Regions from separate parts of the Homo sapiens genome. Here region 2 is linked to region 1. The links are contacts of gene promoters, found by promoter capture Hi-C in blood cells and fetal thymus (Javierre and others, 2016). All regions are on one chromosome and are shown on one strand. Each heading gives the region's core, a stretch centred on a gene start or on the middle of the fragment in contact. The rest is flanking DNA. Distances are from core to core; before and after follow the strand shown. Region 1 holds the start of CHUK (component of inhibitor of nuclear factor kappa B kinase complex). Region 2 overlaps ENTPD7 (ectonucleoside triphosphate diphosphohydrolase 7).

Region 1 (6,237 bases), core at 2,604-5,103:
AACTAAACCTTCTTAATCTTAATGTGATATTATTATTTGAAATAGAATATATTTAATGAGAGAAAAAAATATATGTTCCCAAAAAGATCCTGAGAAGAGTGGATTCCTGGCCTCTTTCCCCATGATGACATCTGGTTGGGCTGTAGAACCAGGGAAATGTAAGTCAAGGAATACACTTACTTCTTCATAATCTGGATTTCATGGCACCATCGTTCTCTGTTTTTGGTACTTAGCTCTAGGCGACAAGACTTAATTGCTATTTTGAGATCAAGTTCCTGCCAAAATAGAAAATCAACAGAAAAAAAAAATTAGGTTCTTGTGAAGATTTATTTGCTACCAAAGAAATAACTTAAGACAACAAAACTTTTTAGCTTTACTAATTAAATATATTTATCCACAGCTCTCTTGAGGCAATGCTTTTTAAAAAGATAAACCATGAGACTATTACACCAATGCTTTAAAACTGACCTTCAAACACACAACAGCATACAAGGGAAAAGTGCCTGAAACTGATTTTATAACAGGTCTTTTCAGAACTCTCTCTCATATATAATGTTAGAAAAAAAAAGATCCTGTCTCCTCAGCAAACCCCTTTCAGAGCTTAATCAAGACAACTAATATGTGCCCCAGCTTCTAGCATAACTAAAATGAAGAAGGTAATTCAGGGCTTCCTGGACTCCAAACAGCAAGAGAAAGTTTTAATATAACCAAGCCTAAAGCAAAAAACTCCAATCCTAATGTATGCATTTCAAATGACATGAAGAAAAAAAATCCTACCAATGAGTGTACTTCTGCTTCCATAGCTACATAATGAACCTAACATCTCTTGCCTGTGACTAGTAATTTAGCCAATTCTGACTGAAATTAAACCCATTCTGATGCATATTACAGGAAATAGCCAGACCCCATCATATTCTGGCAACATTAATAATGCAGCTCAGAAATAGCAGTCAGGGCTAAACAGGCTACACTATGTTTCTGATATCACAAGGAGAGTTCAAAAGAATTTCCAACATATGTAATCTCTGACACAAACCAGAGTTGTAATAAAGGCTGTGTATGAATACAGAGAGAAGAGCCCAGGGGCCAGGACAGAAAAAATATATTATAGGTGGGGAAGCAAGACATAGCTTGGATAGGGTAGTGTGAATTGGAGGGTGAGAGGAAAAAAGAAGCTAGAGATAAGATGATACCTGGTGCATAGAGAAGAAGGAAACTAGGATAGACTGCATGCTAGCCTACCCACAGTTCTCACTCCCTTCAATCTTCCTTTTGTTATGAGCAGGTGACCAGTTATATCTATGTCCCATGCAGGCCTTTACCACCATGGAAATGAGAATCAGGCACAACCATGAACAACACTGAGCCCTGAATGCTCATGTTAATGGAGCAATAAGTTATCTATTTCAAAAATCCCACTTTGTAAGATCCTTCAACTCCTTAATTTATATTTCATCAACTCTGTGAAATTCTACCTTTTCACAAAGAATATTCTATGGGAAGTTTATAGATGTACAACAACAACAAAAAAGTCGGAATATTCTGGAGATAGGGTTATGGCTGTACAACAACGTCAATGTACTTAATGCCACCTAACTGTACACTTAAAAATAAAGTGATAAATGTTGTGTTATGTATACTTTACCATAATAAAACAAAAAGTGATTAATTCATCCATCCCCACCCAGGGACCAAGAAAAGAAGTCACAAAAGCTGCCAGCATGCATCCTTTTTCCTTATGACCAGGCGGATAGGCAGGCTTAGGTAACACAGGCAACATGCCACTGGAAGCACTTGGCTCCCACTTTTTTTTTTTTTTAGTGTGTTATGTTCCCTCTGATGGTGAGAATTATTAAATTTACTACTTATCCTGCTATCACAGGACTTAATGCCTTAGTCCTTCACCTTCCATTCTCTTTCTCCAAGATTTTCTCCTATGCCCTATCTAGAAACCTGGTTCACAAAACTTCCTCAGTTCTAACAGTTTCAGTTGTCATTCTAATTACCCTAAATATGCCTATTTTCCCAAGGTAGACTCCTATCTCCCCTTTCTCCCACCCCAAATTACGAGCTTTCTCACTACACCCATGTTCCTTTAGATAACAAATTATTACTTTTCCTCTTGAATTAACTTCTCTATTCACAAGCCAAGCCCAGGCATTTTAGTAAGATCTTACCTGTTCATCTTGTCCCATATGTTGTTCCACTCAAATTTATCCTTTACAAAACCATTTTCCTAGAACAACACTTTTTATCTTGACATTTCCTTAAGGCCAATTAATGAGGAGCATTATGATCATAGCAGCAACAACAACAAAGTAGCAGCAGGTGCTAACAGTTGAGGGCTTTCATGGGTCAGGTACCGTATTTAGCTTTACACACATTACTATTTTATTTAACTCTCAAATCCATGATGCATGTAATTATTATACTATACTTACTTTACAGGCAACAAAACAAAGCCTATATTACAGGAATTATTAGTCCAGGGTCTATTTACCTAAAATGTCCTTTAGGAAGGCACGAACCTCTCAAATGGCAATGCATGGTTGTGTGAATGTGCATCTGTGCATTTTTCTGGGGAAAGGGTTCACAGCTTTTATCGGTATATCAAAAAATACATGTCCCAGGCCTGGTGCCGTGGCTCACGCCTATAATCTCTGCACTTTGGGAGCCTGAGACAGGTGGATCGCCTGAGGTCAGGAGTTCGAGACCAGCCTGGCCAACATGGTGAAACCCCGTCTCTACTAAAAATACAAAAAAATTAGCCAGGCACGGTGGCGGGCGCCTGTAATCCCAGCTACTCAGGAGGCTGTGGCAGGAGAATCGCTTGAACTCGGGAGGAGGAGGCTGCAGTGAGCCGAGATCGCGCCCTGCATTCCAGCCTGGGCGACAGAGTGAGACTCCGTCTCAAAAACAAAAACAAACAAACAAGACCCAAATATGATTTTTTAACTGCTACTACAATGGTTAAACATTCTCTATTAAATCAAAGTAAAATTCTTGAGTCTGATGTTAACTGTCCTCCACCTACTAGAGCGCCCCCCATCTCCATCTACTAATATAGCCTTTCGTTTGAAGCCATGCTCTGCACCAACTCACCCTCATACTGTCCCGACCTGGAATACATCCCCAATTCCAAAGCCCATCCATGCTTCCAAAGGCTTAACTCTGGACCCATCATGAAGCCTTCCTTGTCTACTCCAGTCCCCACTGATATCATATGGCCTCCAAGCGCGCGCGCGCGCGCGCACACACACACACACACACACACACACACACACGGACGCACACATTCCCAAAGGCAGTCCCCTTCAGCCCTCTTCTCACACATTCGTGCTCCTACATACACACTGTGACGTGCATCTGCCTCACACACCCTGACACTCCACATTCACAGAGACACACACGCACTGTCACACTCACTAAACACCTGGTCACAGCCTGACAGTCATACCCAAGTTCCCCGCAACAGCTCTATCTATGCCCAGTACCTCAAATACAACTTTGGACACACAGGCATAGTATCTTTCTCTCTAATACACACACACAAGCCCACTGGCCCCCAAATACTGCCCAAGGTCCCACCAACCATCTATCCCACACTGTCAGCCCTGTGTTCCACAGACGCTCAAACCCACCGCCGCTCCAACCCACCGCCGCTCCCTCTCACGCCCCGCCTCACCCGATGCTGGTACAGACAGACGTTCCCGAAGCCGCCGGTGCCCAGCCGCTCCCGCATCTCCCAGGGCCCGCCCGCGCCCGGCCGCAGCCCCGGGGGCCGCTCCATGGGGCGGGAGGGCAAGCGGCCTCAGGTTCCACAGTTGTTCCAAGGCCGGTTCCGGGCCGCCGATGCTCGCGCGTCTTTGTTCTCGCGAGAATGAATGCGTCACTTCCGGTAACCGCTGCGAGAAGGCCCTTCCCTAAGTTCTCCCAGGGCGCTGCCAGAGCCCTGCCGGCTAAGGGATGGGGAAACAAACAGGTACTCGGTCCGCTCTTTAAGTCCCCTACGTATTTTCCGGGAGGGCTGAACGGAACCACAATGTTTTTCTAGTCTTGGAAAACATAAGATCTCTCCAAACCCCACATTCCCGTCAAATCCACTTTTCAAAGCAGCCCAGTCTCTCCTGTATTTTTTTCTTTTTAATTAAGATGGGGTCTCGCTCCGTTGCCCAGGCTGGAGTGCAATGGCACGATCACGGCTCACTGCAGCCTCGACCTCCCGGAATTAAGCGATCTTCTCACCTCCCGAGTAGCTGGGATTGCAGGCGCGCACCACCTCGCTTGGCTAATTTTTTATTTTTTGTAGAGACATGGTCTTGCTACGTTGCCCAGGCTGGTCCCGAACTCCTGGTCTCAAGTAGTCCTCCCACCTTGGCATCCCAGAGTGCTGGGATTATAGACATGAGCCACCGCGTCCAGCAATTAGTCTTTTCTAAACTTCATATTGTCTCTACTCCTATCTACACTTCACCTTTCTTCAGATCCCTGCCATCTATCCTCCAACTCCACCACCAGCTGATCCGGCACGCTAAAGACCACCAATGATTTAAAGGCTGCGAAATCGTTAAAATACTACGCTAGCAGGCCCACTAATGAATTAGCCTTCTTGTTCACTGACTTCCCAATACACCTGCTCCAGGATATCCCCTGTCATCCCAAATGACTCAAGAATGTGACGCTATTCCGGAGTGAAGAGTGTTTCTCGGGATTTCGCGAGCTTTTTTCCTAGATGCCTCACAGAGCTTGCTGTCCGGCAGTCCAGTTATGGGTTTGCCAGCACAGTAGTTCATTGTGAGAAGTGTTTCTAATGGGTGCTACAGGGCTGCAGAGGCAAGCTTTGGGAATGCTGTTGGTGCAGCAAGTGCTTCCGGGTGGCGGATTGCCATAGCATAGGGGAAACAACTCCTGGTCTTCCATTTAAGAGGGTCATACCTTCACTGTACCTGGGGGATCTCAATACTCCAAGTAAAGGAATCAGCATGGAATCAAATTATTGATAAATGTGATGCTGCAACCAGAATGTTGAGCACTGCATGATACAGACGAAGTCGATGTTGTAGGTCATTAGTAACATGTGGTATGGGAGGTTCTGGTTTCTGTAAGTGCATGGTTTCCATGGACTTGGAGATGATGATGCCTCTGAGGACATGTCATTTAGAGCTGGGCAGACCGCACAGAGAATTGTGGTACAGATTGTTGTAACAGTATGAAGCCCTCTCATTTGCTGTATGTACAGCATGGCCAGTGCTAATGTGCTCAATTTCCGTAGGTGGGGCTGTAATCTCGTAATTCCCAGTCAAAAGAGGTAGGAAGGGATGCTGAGGACCCAGGGATACTGATGATTGGGCTGACCCAGAAGTGGCCATCTTTGTGGAAACCAGGTTGGTTCCCTTGGTTAACTTTTTAAATGCCCCCATTCCCAGGGCCATGAGTAATTTGAGTTGTTTTTTGTTGTTGTTGTTGTTATTGTTTGAGATGGAGTTTCACTCTTGTCACCCAGGCTGGAGTGCAATGGTGTGATCTCAGCTCACTGCAACCTCCACCTCCAGGGTTCAAGCAATTCTACTGCCTCAGCCTCCCGAGTAGCTGGCATTACAGGCGCATGCAACCACGCCCAGCTAATTTTTTGCATTTTTAGTAGAGACGGGGTTTCACCGTGTTGGCTAGGCTGGTCTCAAACTCCTGATCTCAGGTCATCTGCCTGCCTCAGCCTCCCAAAGTGCTGCAATCACAGGCATGAGCCACCTGGCCTGTTTTTTAAAAAGCCTAAGCCTGTTGACCCCAGGCTCCACAATCTTCAATTTTCCGAGTCTCAGTTTTTTTTTCATGAGTAAAATAGAGGTAATACCTACCTCACAGAGATTTTGTGAAGATTAAATGAAACAGTGTCTGGACCATAAGTGCCCAATATAAAGGTAAAAATATTTTTCTTTTTGCGCCTAATATGTAGCATTCTCTTTGCTCCTTCTCTATGTAAATGTTAGATCACTATTTTCAAGCACTCCTTAAATACTGATATTTCTCAGGTAATCATCTTCAGCTCAGGACTGTATTTACCCTATCTTAATTTCACCTATGGCCTATACCCTGATGATCCCCAAAGCCCTGTAACCAACCCAGGTACTGATGAGTTTAGAACTGCCCAGCAGCACAACAGACACATATTAGATATATCAAGCACCTAAAACAATATCCAAAGGAGAATTATCTTTTTTTTCTTAAATCTGTCCCTTC
Region 2 (6,237 bases), core at 2,786-5,285, 560 kb before region 1:
CACTGTGCCTGGCCTCATTTTTAAAATATTTACATTTTCTTTTTTTTTTTTTTTTTGAGACAGAGTCTTGCTCTGTTGCCCAGGCTGGAGTGCAGTGGCGCTGTCTCAGCTCACTGCATCCTCTGCCTCCCGGGTTCAAGTGATTCTCCTGCCTCAGCCTCCTGAGTAGCTGGGACTGCAGGCACATGCCACCATGCCTGGCTAATTTTTTGTATTTTTAATAGAGATGGGGTTTCACTGTGTTAGCCAGGATGGTCTCGATCTCCTGACCTTGTGGTCTACCCACGTTGGCCTCCCAAAGTGCTGGAATTACAGGCGTGAGCCACCATGCCTGGCCTAAATTTTCTTTTTATTGCTTCTCAGATATGTATTAGTTAAGAGGCTTTGGGCTGCAAATAACAGCCCACATTGACTTAAACAATAAGAATGCTCACATACCTGGAAGTCCAGGGGTAGAAGGACTACAAGTTCAACACTGGCTGACAGGATGAGAGGCTCTGTCTCTCCTGTCTGTTGTCCACAGTGTCAGTTTACTTAATGGTTGAAAAACAGCAGACTGCCGGGCATGGTGGCTCACGCCTGTAATCTCAGCACTTTGGGAGGCGGAGGCAGGTGGATTGCACGAGCTCAAGAGTTCGAGACCAACCTGTGCAACATGGTGAAACTCTGTCTCTACAAAAAAATATAAAAATTAGCCAGGCATGGTAGCATGCACCTGTAGTCCTTGCTTCCCAGGAGGCTGAAGTGGGAGGATCACTGGAGCCTGGGGAGGTAGAGAATGCAGTGAGCTGGGATCACGCCATTGTACTCCAGCCTGGGGGACAGAGTGAGACCCTGTCTCAAAGAAAAAAAAAAAAAGAGAAGAAAAACAGCAGACAGTAGCAACCAGGGCAGCATATATATTCACTTATGTCCCGTAGGAGACAGAAAGGCTTTCCATGACTCTCTTCTAAGAATGGAGAAGAGCCTTGCCAGAAACCTCTAACAACCATTTCCTGGAATCTTTTTTGGTCAGAATTGGGACACATGCCTACCCTCCTTTTTATTTCTGGATTCTGTCCCCAGATTTTCTCATTTCCCATTCACTTTGGTCATTCATTCATTCATTCATCATTCATTCATTCATTCAACAAAAATTTGAGCAGCCACTATGTGCAGACGATAATAGGCATCAGACACCAGATACAGAGACTTTGGTACATTTTCTCAAGAAGCTTATGTTTTCAGCCTTGCCTTCTTCTAGCAGCCCAATTCATTTGTATTTTTGGCTTGCTTTTCTTTTTTTTTTTTCTTTTTAAACGTTACTGAAATAGAGATGGAGGTCTCACTATGTTGCCCAGGCTGGTCTTGAACACCTGGGCTCAAGCGATCCTCCTGCTTTGGCCTCCCAGAGTGTTGGGATTGCAGGCATGAGTACCATGCCAGCCTCGACTTTCTTTTCCTTTCCAGAAGAGGAAACACTGTTTGGATGATTATAGTAATCAACAACTGCCCTTAAGAAATGTACTAAATTTGGAGACCTAAATCCATAATTTGAGTTTGTTTAATGCTTATGGAATTTTCTTGACAGACCTGCGCATAGTTTCTCACTTGAAGACGACATGGTCTAATTATGGACTTCCATGTAGGTTAGTTAATATGGCTAAAGACAATTAGGGAGTGAATGGTGAGCTGTATGGCTGGAGAGCTAGATCAAGCTGAGTCTGTTAAGCTATTTTAGAGGGTTTAGGCATTACCCTCAGGGCAGAAGGAAGGCTTTGAAAGGTTTTGAAGAGTGAAAAGGTTGGAACTGCTTTTTAATTTTTTTTTTTTTTGAAACAGAGTCTCACTCTGTCACCCAGGCCGGAGTGCAGTGGCGCTATCTCGGCTCACTACAACCTCCGCCTCCCAGGTTCAAGCAATTCTCCTGCCTCAGCCTCCCAAGTAGCTGGGATTACAGGCATGTGGCACCATGCCCAGCTAGTTTTTGTATTTTTTAGTAGAGACGGGGTTTCACCATGTTGGCCAGGCTGGTCTCGAATCCCTGGCCTCAAGTAGTCCACCTGCCTCGGCCTCTCAAAGTGCTGGGGTTACAGGCATGAGCCATCGTGCCCAGCCAGAACTGCTTCTTAAAGAAAGCTCACTTTGGTGGGATTGTGGAAAAAGAATTGGAGAGGAATGAAAAAGAAAGCAGGAAGAGTAATTGAACTAGAGATGCTCCTTGACTTATGATGGGTTATGTAAATTGAAATATCATAAGTTGAAAATGCATTTAATACACCTAACCTAACAAATGTCATAGCTTAGCCTAGCCTACTTTAAAGGTGCTCAGAACATTTACATTAGCCTACTGTTGTGCAAAACCACCTAACAGAAGGCATATTTTATAATAAAGTATTGAATATCTCATGTAATTTATTGAATACTGTACTGAAAGTGAAAAACAGAATGGTTGTGTGGATACTCACGGTATACTTTCTACTGAATGTGCATCACTTTTGCACCATCATAAAGCTGAAAAATCATAAGTTGTACCATTGTAAGTCAATGACTGTACCTCAATAGAGAGATGGTTGTGGTTGCAAGAGGATGGAGAGAGGTAAAAGCATTTAAATGTATGTGGGTGGCAGAGTGATCTGATAATTCTTGTCTATCACTGTATCCCAAGTGGTCAGAGCCAATAAATACTTGGTAGGTTGAATTAATTGAAACAAGTTAGCAATAGAGCTGAGGAACACATAGACTGTGCCACTGTGGCGACCTCACCAAAGTCCTAACACCCTGGAATGCTGTGGCTCAGAGCTCATTGTTACTTAATGAAAGGTTCTGTATATATTGCCACAAATGACCATTTATCATTAAACTTCACTCAGGGCAGCCTCCATGAGTCATTTAAGAGGCAAACATTTATTGAGGGTTTGCTGTGTCGATGACTCTATGATAGCACTGGAGTACAAAGATGACTAAACATAGCCCCTGAACTCAAGGAGTTCGTAATCTAGTTAGAGAGGCAGGCATAAAGGAAAAATTATTTCCCAGTGAGATAATAGTTTAGGTACGGTTGTATAGAATCAGGAGTGAAGAATCAGGAACTATGTACAAGGTTAAGAATTAGGAACAAAGCTAAGAATCAGAAATTAAACAGAAGAAGTTCTTGAGCAACCAAATTTGATATCACTAAGTTCATGTGCTAAAAGCACCTGTACTTTACTGATAAGATAGGCTCTCACATAAAGCCTGTTAGCTTTTATTTTACACACTGTTCTCATTTGCATGGTTCTCACTTGTCTCAGAACACAGTAGATAACAGCAAATTGGAATGGTGGGTGGGGTGTGTTGTTAGATGTGGGCACATTATGACAATAATCAGTTATATCTGGCATCTTGACAGTGAAGCAGGAGAGAGGAAATTTAATAAAGATAGACTCAATAACTCAAAATTTCTACAGACAGTTTCTATAGTGGTAAACAGTTCTACATATGTTGTTAAAACTGTTTTATTACATAGTCTAAAAATTTATGTTAATGAAATGATAATCTTTTTTTTTTTTTTTTTTTTTTTGAGACAGAGTCTCACTCTGTTGCCCAGGCTGGAGTGCAGTGGCATGATCTCAGCTCACTTCAACCTCCACCTCCCAGGTTCAAGCGATTCTCATGCCTTAGCCTCCCGAGTAGCTGGGATTACAGGTGCGCACCACCATGCCCGGCTAATTTTTGTATTTTTAGTAGAGACAGGGTTTCACCATGTTTGCCAAGCTGGTCTCAAACTCCTGGCCTCATGTGATCCACCCACCTCAGCCTCTCAAAGTGCTGGGATTACAGGCGTGAGCCACCATGCCTGGCCATTAATGATAATTTTAAATCAGAGGTTTTCAACCTTTGTGTATCTAAATCACTTGGGGACCTTTAGAAAAATGCAAATAATTGGGACTCTTCTCAAGGTGAATCTAATATACCACCTGGGTTGAGAAAAACTGCTTTAAGATTTGGTTACATTTACTTAAGGAGGTATTGTGAGGTAAGGGAAAGAATGTTAATATTAGAGTTAATCAGCCCATCATTTGCTAGTTGGGTAATCTTGGGCAGGTTTCTTAATATCCTGGAATTTCATATTCTTTATATATAAAGTGAGAATAAAAATAGCTGTCTTTTAGTCTTGTCATTTGCATAAGAAGAGTAGAGCATCTAGGAATGTCAGGTGCATTGATTGACTAATCAAATGTCAATCTATTATTTGAAATAATCTTGATTTTTCTGTTTTCCAATTCTCTTCTCTGCCTGAAAATATACACTGAAGATAATGGGCGTTATAATCTCTATTTAAAATTTTGATGAAATGATTAAGCAAGTAACTAGGAATTGGTAGAAACACTTGCTACCTTAATTTAACAGCTTAAAAAAGTTTTAACACAAGCGCCTGTAGTTGTGATTTTTTTATATTATATTCATATATAGACATATTTTTTCTACTTAAATTGTTCCTAATTCACACAGTGAAATTATATCCGTACTTTGTGGTGTCCCTCAGAAAGTGTGCTGTCTTCCAGGAACCCACTTACACGTGTCTTCATGGGAGCAAGTTTGCAAACCTTTGATCAGGAAAATGTGCCTAGAGGAACACTACATGCATTCTTTATTTTATTTTATATATCTTTTTTTTTTTTTTTTGTAGAGACAGTGTCTCCCTATGTTGCCAAGCGTAGTCATGAACTCCTAGGCTCAAGCAATCCACCTGCCTTGGCCTCGCAAAGTGCTGGGATTACAGATGTGAGCCACTGTCCTAGGCCCATTCATTGTTTTATGGTCTTGACAAATAAGGCATTGCTTTAATTAGAAATGATAGTCTCTCTTGCACATTGCATCTTTGTATTTTAATATATATGAAAGCAGTTAATGTTTAAAATATTTTAATTACTTTTGCATTGAAAACAGATATTTCAATGTGAACTTTTTATAGGCATTGGTGGAATTTAACATATCACTTTTCAGGGGATATTAACCAGGACTTTAGAAGCCTGTCAGGGGGTTTTCTCTCAGTAGTTCCAGAACTAAAGACTTACATTTTTTTTCTTTATTGTGAACATGTATCCATATTGCTTCTGGAAAGAGAGAGTAGGAAGTTTGCATCAAAACTAGAATTTATTTGATACAAAAAAAGTAAATTTAGAGAGATGGGGTGTCAGTAAGGATAGAATCCAAAACTGTGTTTTTTTTAATACACTTTTTTTAGAGCCATTTTAGTTTTACAGCTCATTTGAGCTGAAGGTGCAGAGATTTACCACATATCCCCTGACCCTACACATGCACAGCAGAGCTGTTTTTGAGAATAATACTTGTGTTAGATGTGTGGTTTTTTTTTTTTTTTTTTTTTTTTTTTGAGACAGAGTCTTGCTCTGTCGTCCAGGCTGGAGTGCAGTGGTGCGATCTCGGCTCACTGCAAGCTCCGCCTCCCGGGTTCACGCCATTCTCCTGCCTCAGCCTCCCAAGTAGCTGGGACTACAGGCACCCGCCACCAGGCCCAGCTAATTTTTTGTATTTTTAGTAGAGACGGGGTTTCACCGTGTTAGCCAGGATGGTCTTGATCTCCTGACCTCATGATCCACCCGCCTCGGCCTCCCAAAGTGCTGGGATTACAGGCGTGAGTCACTGCGCCCGGCCGAGATGTGTGTTTTAATCAACTATTTTTCTGGCATGTGCCACATAAGACATGCTCCAATATTTTCTTCAGACTCAATACATATCTTATATCCATTTATTCATTTATCTGTTTACTTATTCAACAATTATCGAGTGTCTACACTGTGGTATCAAATAGGGTAGTCACTACCCACAAGTGGCTAATTAAATTTAAATTAATTAAGATTAAATGAAACAAAATTCAGTTCCTCACTTGGACTGGGCACATTTCAAATGCTCAGTGGCCACATGTGGATATATGGGACAGTGCAGATAGAGAACATTTTCATCATTTCACAGAGTTCTGTTGACAGTGCTAAGTGTACCATGTTTTAATTTCTGCTGTGGATGCTGGGTAATTGTTAAAATTTATTAATTTTTCATACAGTCGTGTGTTATATAATGATTGGGATATGTTCTAATAAATGCATCATTAAGTGATTTCATCATTGTGTAAACATCATAGAATACTTACACAAACCTAGATGGTACAGCCTACTACACACTGAGGCTGTGTGGTGTATACGCTCCTAGCCTACAAGCCTGTACACATGTTGCTGCACTGAATACTATAGGCAACTG

What was found. The method cuts DNA at HindIII sites, captures the fragments that hold promoters and counts their contacts. A CHiCAGO score of 5 or more calls a contact.
Region 2: a fragment that was not itself captured here is called in contact with the fragment with the promoter of CHUK in region 1 in 1 of 17 cell types (neutrophils); the score reaches 5.0 in neutrophils.

What each region holds. Positions count from the first base shown.
Region 1 is chr10:100,225,743-100,231,979 of GRCh38, forward strand. CHUK (component of inhibitor of nuclear factor kappa B kinase complex) reads right to left here and starts at 3,854. Exons shown (of 21, transcript NM_001278.5): 1 at 3,686-3,854; 2 at 181-275. The coding sequence starts at 3,790. It overlaps CHUK-DT (CHUK divergent transcript), which reads left to right and starts at 3,918. Exons shown (of 4, transcript NR_186419.1): 1 at 3,918-3,982; 2 at 5,273-5,384. RefSeq lists silencers at 3,592-3,831, 4,901-5,163 and an enhancer at 3,942-3,991. The HindIII fragment of the contact is 6,397 bases long and covers 1-4,836 here.
Region 2 is chr10:99,664,412-99,670,648 of GRCh38, forward strand. The region is part of intron 3 of ENTPD7 (ectonucleoside triphosphate diphosphohydrolase 7); the gene reads left to right. Among named protein-coding and RNA genes, the nearest start is that of ENTPD7, 8.0 kb to the left of the region's middle. The HindIII fragment of the contact is 5,646 bases long and covers 1,213-6,237 here.